3 separate regions of the Homo sapiens genome follow, and regions 1 and 3 are each linked to region 2. The links are contacts of gene promoters, found by promoter capture Hi-C in blood cells and fetal thymus (Javierre and others, 2016). All regions are on one chromosome and are shown on one strand. The core of a region is centred on a gene start or on the middle of the fragment in contact, and the rest is flanking DNA. Distances in the headings are between cores, read along the strand shown. Region 1 overlaps USP35 (ubiquitin specific peptidase 35). Region 2 holds the start of NARS2 (asparaginyl-tRNA synthetase 2, mitochondrial). Region 3 overlaps GAB2 (GRB2 associated binding protein 2).

Region 1 (2,700 bases), core at 187-2,686, 370 kb before region 2:
AGCGGGGAAGTGGCTTGCTCTGGGTCACACAGCAAGGACTTGCTGGAGCCAAAGCTTCTGGCCCAGGGGCAGTGCCCTTCCAGGCAGAAGCAGCTGAAAGCCTTGTTCTGGCATTGCAGCCCAGTGTGGAGGGGCGAGACTTGGGGTGCTGAGAGGGCCTGGCTCCCTTCTTGGTGGGCTGGGAGCCTCAGTGTCTGGCAGGTGGCTGTGCTGGGCTTGTGCATTTCCCAGCCATGTCTGGTTCAGCCCACAGACCCCGGGGCTGCCCTTTGCAGGTGTGAGTCAATGTGGGAACCCAGGACATTACGGATAGCCCCTGGGCTGCCCTCACCCCAGCATTTTGGGTGTCCCTTGTCCCTGTGTCACTGTCACTCCCCTCACCAGGATGATTGACTGGGTGTCCTGGCCCCTGGGGAAGAATATTGACAAGTGGATCATTGCACTGCTGAAGGGCCTGGCTGCTGTTAAGAAGTTCAGCATCTTGATCGAGGTTTCGCTCACCAAAATTGAGAAGGTTGGTGCCCCTGTCCTAGCCCAGAGTTACAGCCTTTTGTACTAGGCTCTTGCCAGGGGCGGTGCAGGTCTGGGAGGTCAGAGCATTGGGCCTACCCACCAAGCTCGCTGTGTGACCTGGGCGAATTCACTGCCCCTCTCTGGGCCTCAGATTCTCCCCATTAGTTTCCCTGACTACTCATCCAAGTATGTGTGTCTGACTTTTGGTGTGTCCATCCATTCCTCAGATATCTATGTTGCTGTCCATCTCACCATCTGTCTGTCCATCTGGGTCTGTGAGCACCTCAGTGTTGATCCCTCTGCATGGGTTTGAACTCTAGGGTGTCTCTGAGTCCCCTCTCAGGCTTGTGATTCTACTTGGCCTCAGCAGCTCAAGCCTGGGGACTCCTGACCAGGGACTCTCTTGTAGGTTTTCTCTAAGCTGCTGTACCCCATCGTCCGGGGAGCTGCCTTGTCTGTGCTCAAGTACATGCTCCTGACCTTCCAGCACTCCCACGAAGCCTTCCACCTGGTAAGGTCCCCTGCCTGCTGCCCCTGGTGAGGCCCCTGCCTGCTGCCCCTGGTAAGGGCCCTGCCTACTGCCCCTGGTAAGGGCCCTGCCTGCTGACCCTGGGCTCTTGGGGCAGGTCACTTGGCTGAGGCCAAGCAGCTGGATCGTGGGCTCTGGCCTCCCTTTGACTGTGAGGAGAGGAGTAGTCATCCTATTTTGCAGATGAAGAAACTGAGGCAGGGTGTCTTAGATCATATTGTTGGGAAAAGGAGTCACCTGCCTGCAGAGCTCAGAGCCCCATCTGGGTCAGGGGACAGTGGTCAGGTGGGCAAGCCTCCCTACCTCAGAGAGTGTTGCGTGCTGTCAGCAGGGACCACAGCCCCGTGTCTCAGGTGGGCGGGTTGGTGCTGAGCCTGACGCAGCTCTGCTCCCACAGCTCCTCCCTCACATCCCCCCCATGGTGGCCTCTCTGGTCAAGGAGGACTCGAACTCGGGGACCAGCTGCCTGGAGCAGCTGGCGGAGCTGGTCCACTGCATGGTGTTCCGGTTCCCGGGCTTCCCGGATCTGTATGAGCCTGTCATGGAGGCCATCAAGGTGAGCGACAGTCCCCTACTTGGGCCTTGCCCCACTCTGACAAAGGTACCAGTGTGGGCCTTCCAGCGGGCCATACCACAGCTTGGTGGCAGTCCCCGTCATTTGGTGCCTGGCTGTCTCCCATCACCTCCCCAGGTCCATCATGTGCCTCAAGCACACTGAGCCACTCACGTTCCCCAAGTAGGCTGGGCTGCCTCATGGCTGCTCTGGGCTTTTGCACACACTGTGCTTTCTAACCATAAACGCTTCTCTGTCAGTGTAGTATGGAAATTAAAACACGTTCTCTTTCTCTGCTCTGCCTGGACAGCTCCTGCTTACCTTGTAAGTCTCTGTTCTAGTGTTACTTCCCTCAGGATGCCTTTCCTGATCACTCTCAGTACTCCCATGCCCTCCACCAGGCTGGGCTAGGGCCTCGCTGGGCTCCCACAGTCTTGGTACATCCCTCTGTCACATGTTATCACTGTCTGTCTGCCTCCCTTGCCAGACTGTGAGCACTCCAGACCAGGGATAATTTACAGTCGTTCACATGACTTTACTGACGTCCTGCTCTGCACCAAGCCCAGGCTGGGAACTGGGGGCATGGGCATGAAGCAAACGGAGTCTCCTCCATTGAGAGGATCGCAGCCTGGTGAGGGTGACAGACTTGGATACGAGAAACTCTGGTCGGAGCAGCTTTTGAAAATGTCTACAAGGTTTGGCTTGAGAGCAGTGAGAAACCAGAGGAAGGAAAGATCTTCTCCAGTTAGAGAGGACAGATGAGGCCTCTAAGAAGAAAGAGTTTCTTAGAGGCCTCATCAAGCTGGGCTTGACGGGTTGCTAGGATCTGACAGTGACTAACATCTGTGGCTACTGCTACACTTGAGATTATTTTCCTGTATGTTTTGTCTTCTGATGCTCACAAGAAACCTACAAAGATGATACGGTTCATTTCAATCTCATAGATGAGGAAAAGGAGACTTGGAGAAGTTTGGTGACTTGTGCAAAGTCACAGAGGTAGTGAGACATGTAGCTGGAGTCTGGATGGCAGAGCCTTCCCCATTGCCTGATAGAGAAGGCAGGTTGGGTGGGGTGAAGGGGTCTAGGTAGGTGGCCCTTGCAGAAC
Region 2 (2,700 bases), core at 186-2,685:
TGGAGGCCGAGGCAGGAGGATTGCTTGAGCCTGGGAGATGGAGGTTGTAGTCATCTGAGATCACATCACTGCGCTCCAGTCTGGGTGACAGAGCTAGACCCTGTCTCAAAAAATAAATAACCACATCAGTGTACTTCAGCAACCTAATAAGAAACAGTCAAACACCTTGTTTATTCTGCACCTCTTCTATGTGGAGCTGCTGCAAATAATATAATCAGCAAGAGAAACAATAGCAGCTAACATTTGTAGACTATGAGCCACTGTTCTAAATATCTTACTTCCATTACCTCATTTAATTTTCAGGACTCAGGGACAATTATTATCTCTTTCCATAAGAGGAAAATAAGGTGTAGAACGCATAAACGCTATGCAGAGATTTAAACCTAAGCAGCTTAACTCCAGAGCTCTTTCAAACTGCTACATTCCAGTCTTTCTCCGAATTCATTAAAAATAAATTACATGCAGACCCCCACAATAGGCACTGAGGTCGCTAAAAGTTTAAAAGGCATGGTTTGAACAAGTATTTGCTGTCAGCCATGTGTGAATACAAAGGCAGGTAAGACACGGTTTCTGCTCTCAAGGAGGGAGGTCAAGACAACCACTTTATAAACCTGGATATTCATTATAAGGGATAAAGATAGAGAAAGGGGGCTTGTTCATTTACACTTTTGGTATGATTAACAAGTTTACAGGTAATACCCTGGAATCATGAAAGCAAAGTTCCAGCGCTTTACAGTTATCGGAACAGTTTTGTGAAAAGTAATGGAAATCAGAAAAGTGCAAACCCGCGACGCCTACACTTTCTAACTTTTCCCTGCTGGCGGTTGTGTCTGACCCGACTGTAAAAGAAAAGCTAGATGTGGATGTGCCATATAAAAGTCCCTACAAGAAAAAACCCACTCCCTTCCCATTCACCAACCTGGATCTTAATGCGCTCCCCACTCGCGTTCTGAGCCCCGAGAGCGTCCCGCACGCTCAGTTTGGCTGAAGGTTTGTGCTTGGGGAAGGGGGCGGAGGAACAGAAGCGCACGGACCGCAGCAGGCAGCGGACCCCCAGCATCCCGCGTCCGCCCAGGCCCTCCGCGGGAGCAGCCCAGACCCCACGGTTCGAACCCCGCCTGCAGCGGCCCTCCTTTCTCAGCTGCTCCCCTTCCGCGGCCGCAGCTCTGCTCTAAGGCACTCCAGAGCCCCTCGGCTGCGCGCTTTCTCCTTCAGGACTCCCAGCTCTGTCCCCACAGAACCTCTCCGCTTCCCACTTCCCAACGGGGCGGAATGGACAGGACACTAGGCAAACGCCAGAAAGAAACCACGTGCAGTTGGCAGCTGGGGCGCCCCACTACCCGCGACAATTGTAAACCTACGAACAGAACCCGGGCCGCAACACGCGCAACCACTCCTACCACACCACGCCAACGCCGCTTACGTCATCACGCTACGGGGAAGAAGGGAGAGCATGCGTACTTGTGACCCAGGCTTAGGGAGGCGTGCGGGAGGGGGCGGGGTCAGGAGCCGAGACGGGGCGGAGCTAATGCCCTAAGGTTGTAGAGATTATCGCTGAAAGAACGTGGGAGCACATCTGAGGGTCTTCATTTCTAAAGTTTCCAGGTGAGGCTGAGAAACTGAGAGGCAAGGAGTGACTGATGGAGAGGGAAACCGTCTCCATCAGTCAACAATAGGGATCCAAGTAAGAGGAGGCTCTTAGCTGTTAACAGGATTCGCTTGAAGAGATCAGTCGTTCCTTTCCTGAGTACTCCGCAGAGAAAAATCAGACATAGCCCCAATGCGCAAGTCACAGTTGTGTGGTATCAGACAGCTAAACAGACAGTTGCATAAAAGGGCGATCAGTTTGCCTGACAGAGCCTAAGCGTGGGACGCCAGAGATGGCTTCCTGGAGAAAGTAGTCCTCTGACAGGTAAATAAAAGGAACTGGAGGGACCTTGCATATGGCAGGCAAGACGGTGGGAAGATGTTGCAGAGACTGGAGGAAACTCGAGTGTTTCCTGCCAGAATCCTCCAAGTCTCCCTCTTCCCTCTGCCCTCCAACACAGCTATCTGCATTTGTTTGACCTGGAAACAATGACCCTTTTATATATTAGGCTACGTTTTATTAAAAAAAAAATTCTGTAACTCAATGACGGTCATTAAAAGGTTTTTAATCTAATTTAAAAAGTAAAACGTTTGGCCAAGTGCGGTGGCTCACGCCTGTAATCCCAACTCTTAGGGAGGCAGAAGCAGGAGGATTGCTTCAGCCCAGGAGTTCAAGACCAGCGCTCGCCCTCGCTGTCTCTCTCCCGCTCCCTCTCACTCTCACTCTCTCTCTCTCACTTTTACCTTACTTAAAGTTGCTACTATTATTATACCCATTTTACAAATGAGAGAACTTACGCACAGAAAGGCTAGATGACCTACTTAAGGATACACATTCCCTAAGTGTGAGATTTAAACCCAGAAGTGCTGGCTCTATGCACTTAAGCAGTATGCTGTATTACATAGTGTCCCAAGGTGATCTGTTCCATCAAGGAGCTCATGCTTTAGAGATGGAGACAAGCAAGAAAAGAGACTACTGAAATATAAACCAGTAAGTGCACACATAGATGTATGAGTTGTCTGCATTTGTTTGGACTGAAAAGTCACCCTTATATATTAGGCTACCTCTTAAATTTATCCAAAAAATTATTTTTGATATTTTATCCAAATATT
Region 3 (2,700 bases), core at 138-2,637, 330 kb before region 2:
ATTAATAGGGATTTCACAGAGGAGGTAGGGGTGCAGAGAGTGGGCCCTAAAGGCTAATTCAAGCAGAGATGTTTCTACGTTTGTTCTCTGATGCGTCAGCAGGATCACTGGAGTGGTGGTGGCGGCAATTGTTACTACTATATAAAGCCTTCTACTTAGTGTGAGCTGTAGACAATCTGTGCTGGTATCATCTGGAGTTTATTAGAAAGGACCCCAGGACCTAGGCCAGGCTTACTGAGTCAGAGTGAGCATTTCAGTAAGATCTTCAGGTATTTCATATGCATGTTAAAGTCTGCAAGGCACTACAGCTAAGTACTTTGCCTTTCACTACAACTATGATTTTAAGACCTCACCTTATCTGCTCCCAGGCAGTTGTCTATGTAGTAGAAGAGGATGGGGCATAGGAAGAACAGGTAAAATGTATTTACTCTCTACTACTATTTTATGTATGTTTTATCATTTTACACTCATTAGTAAGCCTTTGAATTAGTTATTCCCATTCTGAAGATAAGAATATTGAAGGTTAATTAGGTTAAATAATTGGCCCAAGATCACAAAGAAAGTAAAAGAACCTGAATTTGAACCCATATCCGACTGACTCCAAAGCCTGAACATGCTTTTCATTATACCACACTGCCTATCTCTGGTTAGTGATTCGGGAGAATCAGGTACTATTTACAGTTAACGCCACTAACTAGTTCAGTGACCTTGGCTAACTCACTCTATCTTTTTAGGACTCAGCTCTTCATGTATAAGTTGATGGAAGTTGAACTAGTGAAAGTTCACAAACAAATGAATCATGTTCTTCATGAAAATGGGTATCTGAGGCAGCCTTAAGATTAAGTGTTGGAGCCTCTTCTGTGTGACAGCAGATGACTCAGAAAAACAAAAGTAGGGTAGCATAGTGAAAAGAGTACAGGACCAGAAACAAGAAGACCTGGGTTCTAGCCCAACCTCTGCTATTTATTAGTCATGATTCTCAGTTCCTTCATCTTTAAAATGGAGATAAATTTTGTATACTGGCTATTTCTCAGTGTATTGATTGGTTCAAATGAGATTATGTATGAAAATATTCTCAAGGACAAAATCAAGTAATACATTAGTACAGCCATTTTTCTATTTGCCTTAATTGTCATAACATGAATTAGATCTTGTAAGTTAATTAAAATGTGATTTGTAATCTGCTGGCTATGGTAGCAACTGGGAATTAGCTCTGGCAAAGCCTATCAGCTCTGCACTTTTGCTTAGCCTAACAATGGGAATAAAACATAATAAATACATTTACAGGTTCTGCACCTGTGAAAGAGCTGATGATGTTAGAAAAACAAAAGACCATTATCCTAGAACAGGGAGTCCTTGCTCTAGAACTTCGTTATGATGGAAATTTTCTGTATCTGTGCTGTCTGGTACAGTAGCCCCTAGACATATGTGTCTACTGAGGACTTGAAATGTGGCTAGTACAACTAAGGAACTGAATTTTACATTTTATTTCATTTTAATTAATTTAAATTTATGTAGACATATGCAGGTAGTAGCTACTATACAGAACAGTGCAGTTCTAGAGCAAAAGCAAGGTATGGATTTGTTGAACTATGTTATGGTTTTATAGCTATACTTTTAAGCCCAAGTAAATTGACTGTTTTTTTTTGCAATTCGGAAACTGTGTCCCCTAATGCCTTCACCCCTGCCTCCAAATCAAACATTTTTTATAGCATGATTTTTGATAATGAAAAGTTTCTCTGGCACCCAGTTATCACTGTGTAGCAACACAGATGATGCCAATAAAATATGAAGGCTACAGAAGCAAAAAATTATGTTTTGTCATAGACGTGTTTGTCTACCTGAAACGATATAATGTTTTGCTTGTCTTTAAAAAAGCAAGGACTGAAAAGTACTAGGCCCTGTGAGCGGTCACTAACCCACCTAATGGCTGTGGCAGCCTCCTACCTTGCATTTTCTGCTCTTCGGCTTATGCACTGGTGCAAGTAGAGATACTCCTGAGGTGCGCTGGTGGACAAGGTGGGCTGCATGTGGTTTGACACAGGGGGTTCAAACGTGAACAGAGTTGGCTGGCTGGAGTGTGATGGGGCTGAGGACTTGCGCTCTCGGAGAAGGTGCTGGCTAGAGCTGCTGAGCTCAGCTGGAGAAGAGCGGGGGCCATGACCGGCTGAGGAAACATTTCTCAGGGAGTCTGAAAAGGAGAAATAGCTCTGTGAATGAAAAAGGAAGGAAATGTATCCTTATCCCAAAGTGAGTTGTCAGAGGAAGAAAAAAGAGTAAGAGCAGAGAAAATAATCCAGCACTAGCATTCTCTCCCTCTCATATACCTGCCCCTTGCTGCCCTCCTGGCCATCTTGGTTGAAGAAGAGGTCCTCTTTACCTTTGTATGGCTTCTGGGGTAGCCTGGAGGTGACTTCCTATCACAATGTAGGCCATATCTGCCCCACTTCCAGGAAGTACGGCTACCTGTGGTCTAGGAGTGTGACCCTGACCCTCAGGCAAGGTCTGCCTCTAGAGTAATGAGTACGACCACCTTCCCACTCTTTGGTGGCGCCTGCTGTGGTCAAAGGATGAAATCATGTCTTTTGCAGCAACATGAATGCAGCTGAACATCATTATCCCAAGTGAATTAATGCAGAAACAGAAAACCAAATACCCTAATGTTCTCACTTATAAGTTGGAGCTAAACACAGGGTGCAC

The links. The method cuts DNA at HindIII sites, captures the fragments that hold promoters and counts their contacts. A CHiCAGO score of 5 or more calls a contact.
Region 1: a contact is called between a fragment that was not itself captured here and the fragment with the promoter of NARS2 in region 2, in 1 of 17 cell types (M0 macrophages). The highest score is 5.6, in M0 macrophages.
Region 3: a contact is called between a fragment that was not itself captured here and the fragment with the promoter of NARS2 in region 2, in 1 of 17 cell types (M1 macrophages). The highest score is 5.5, in M1 macrophages.

The regions. Positions count from the first base shown.
Region 1 is chr11:78,199,211-78,201,910 of GRCh38, forward strand. It overlaps USP35 (ubiquitin specific peptidase 35), which reads left to right. Exons shown (of 11, transcript NM_020798.4): 4 at 385-514; 5 at 923-1,024; 6 at 1,440-1,598. Among named protein-coding and RNA genes, the nearest start is that of USP35, 12 kb to the left of the region's middle. The HindIII fragment of the contact is 2,768 bases long and covers 53-2,700 here.
Region 2 is chr11:78,573,429-78,576,128 of GRCh38, forward strand. It overlaps NARS2 (asparaginyl-tRNA synthetase 2, mitochondrial), which reads right to left and starts at 1,436. Exons shown (of 14, transcript NM_024678.6): 1 at 920-1,436. The coding sequence starts at 1,060. RefSeq lists enhancers at 822-931, 1,592-1,731. The HindIII fragment of the contact is 10,208 bases long and covers 1-2,700 here.
Region 3 is chr11:78,248,210-78,250,909 of GRCh38, forward strand. It overlaps GAB2 (GRB2 associated binding protein 2), which reads right to left. Exons shown (of 10, transcript NM_080491.3): 3 at 1,948-2,191. Among named protein-coding and RNA genes, the nearest start is that of USP35, 61 kb to the left of the region's middle. The HindIII fragment of the contact is 3,578 bases long and covers 1-2,700 here.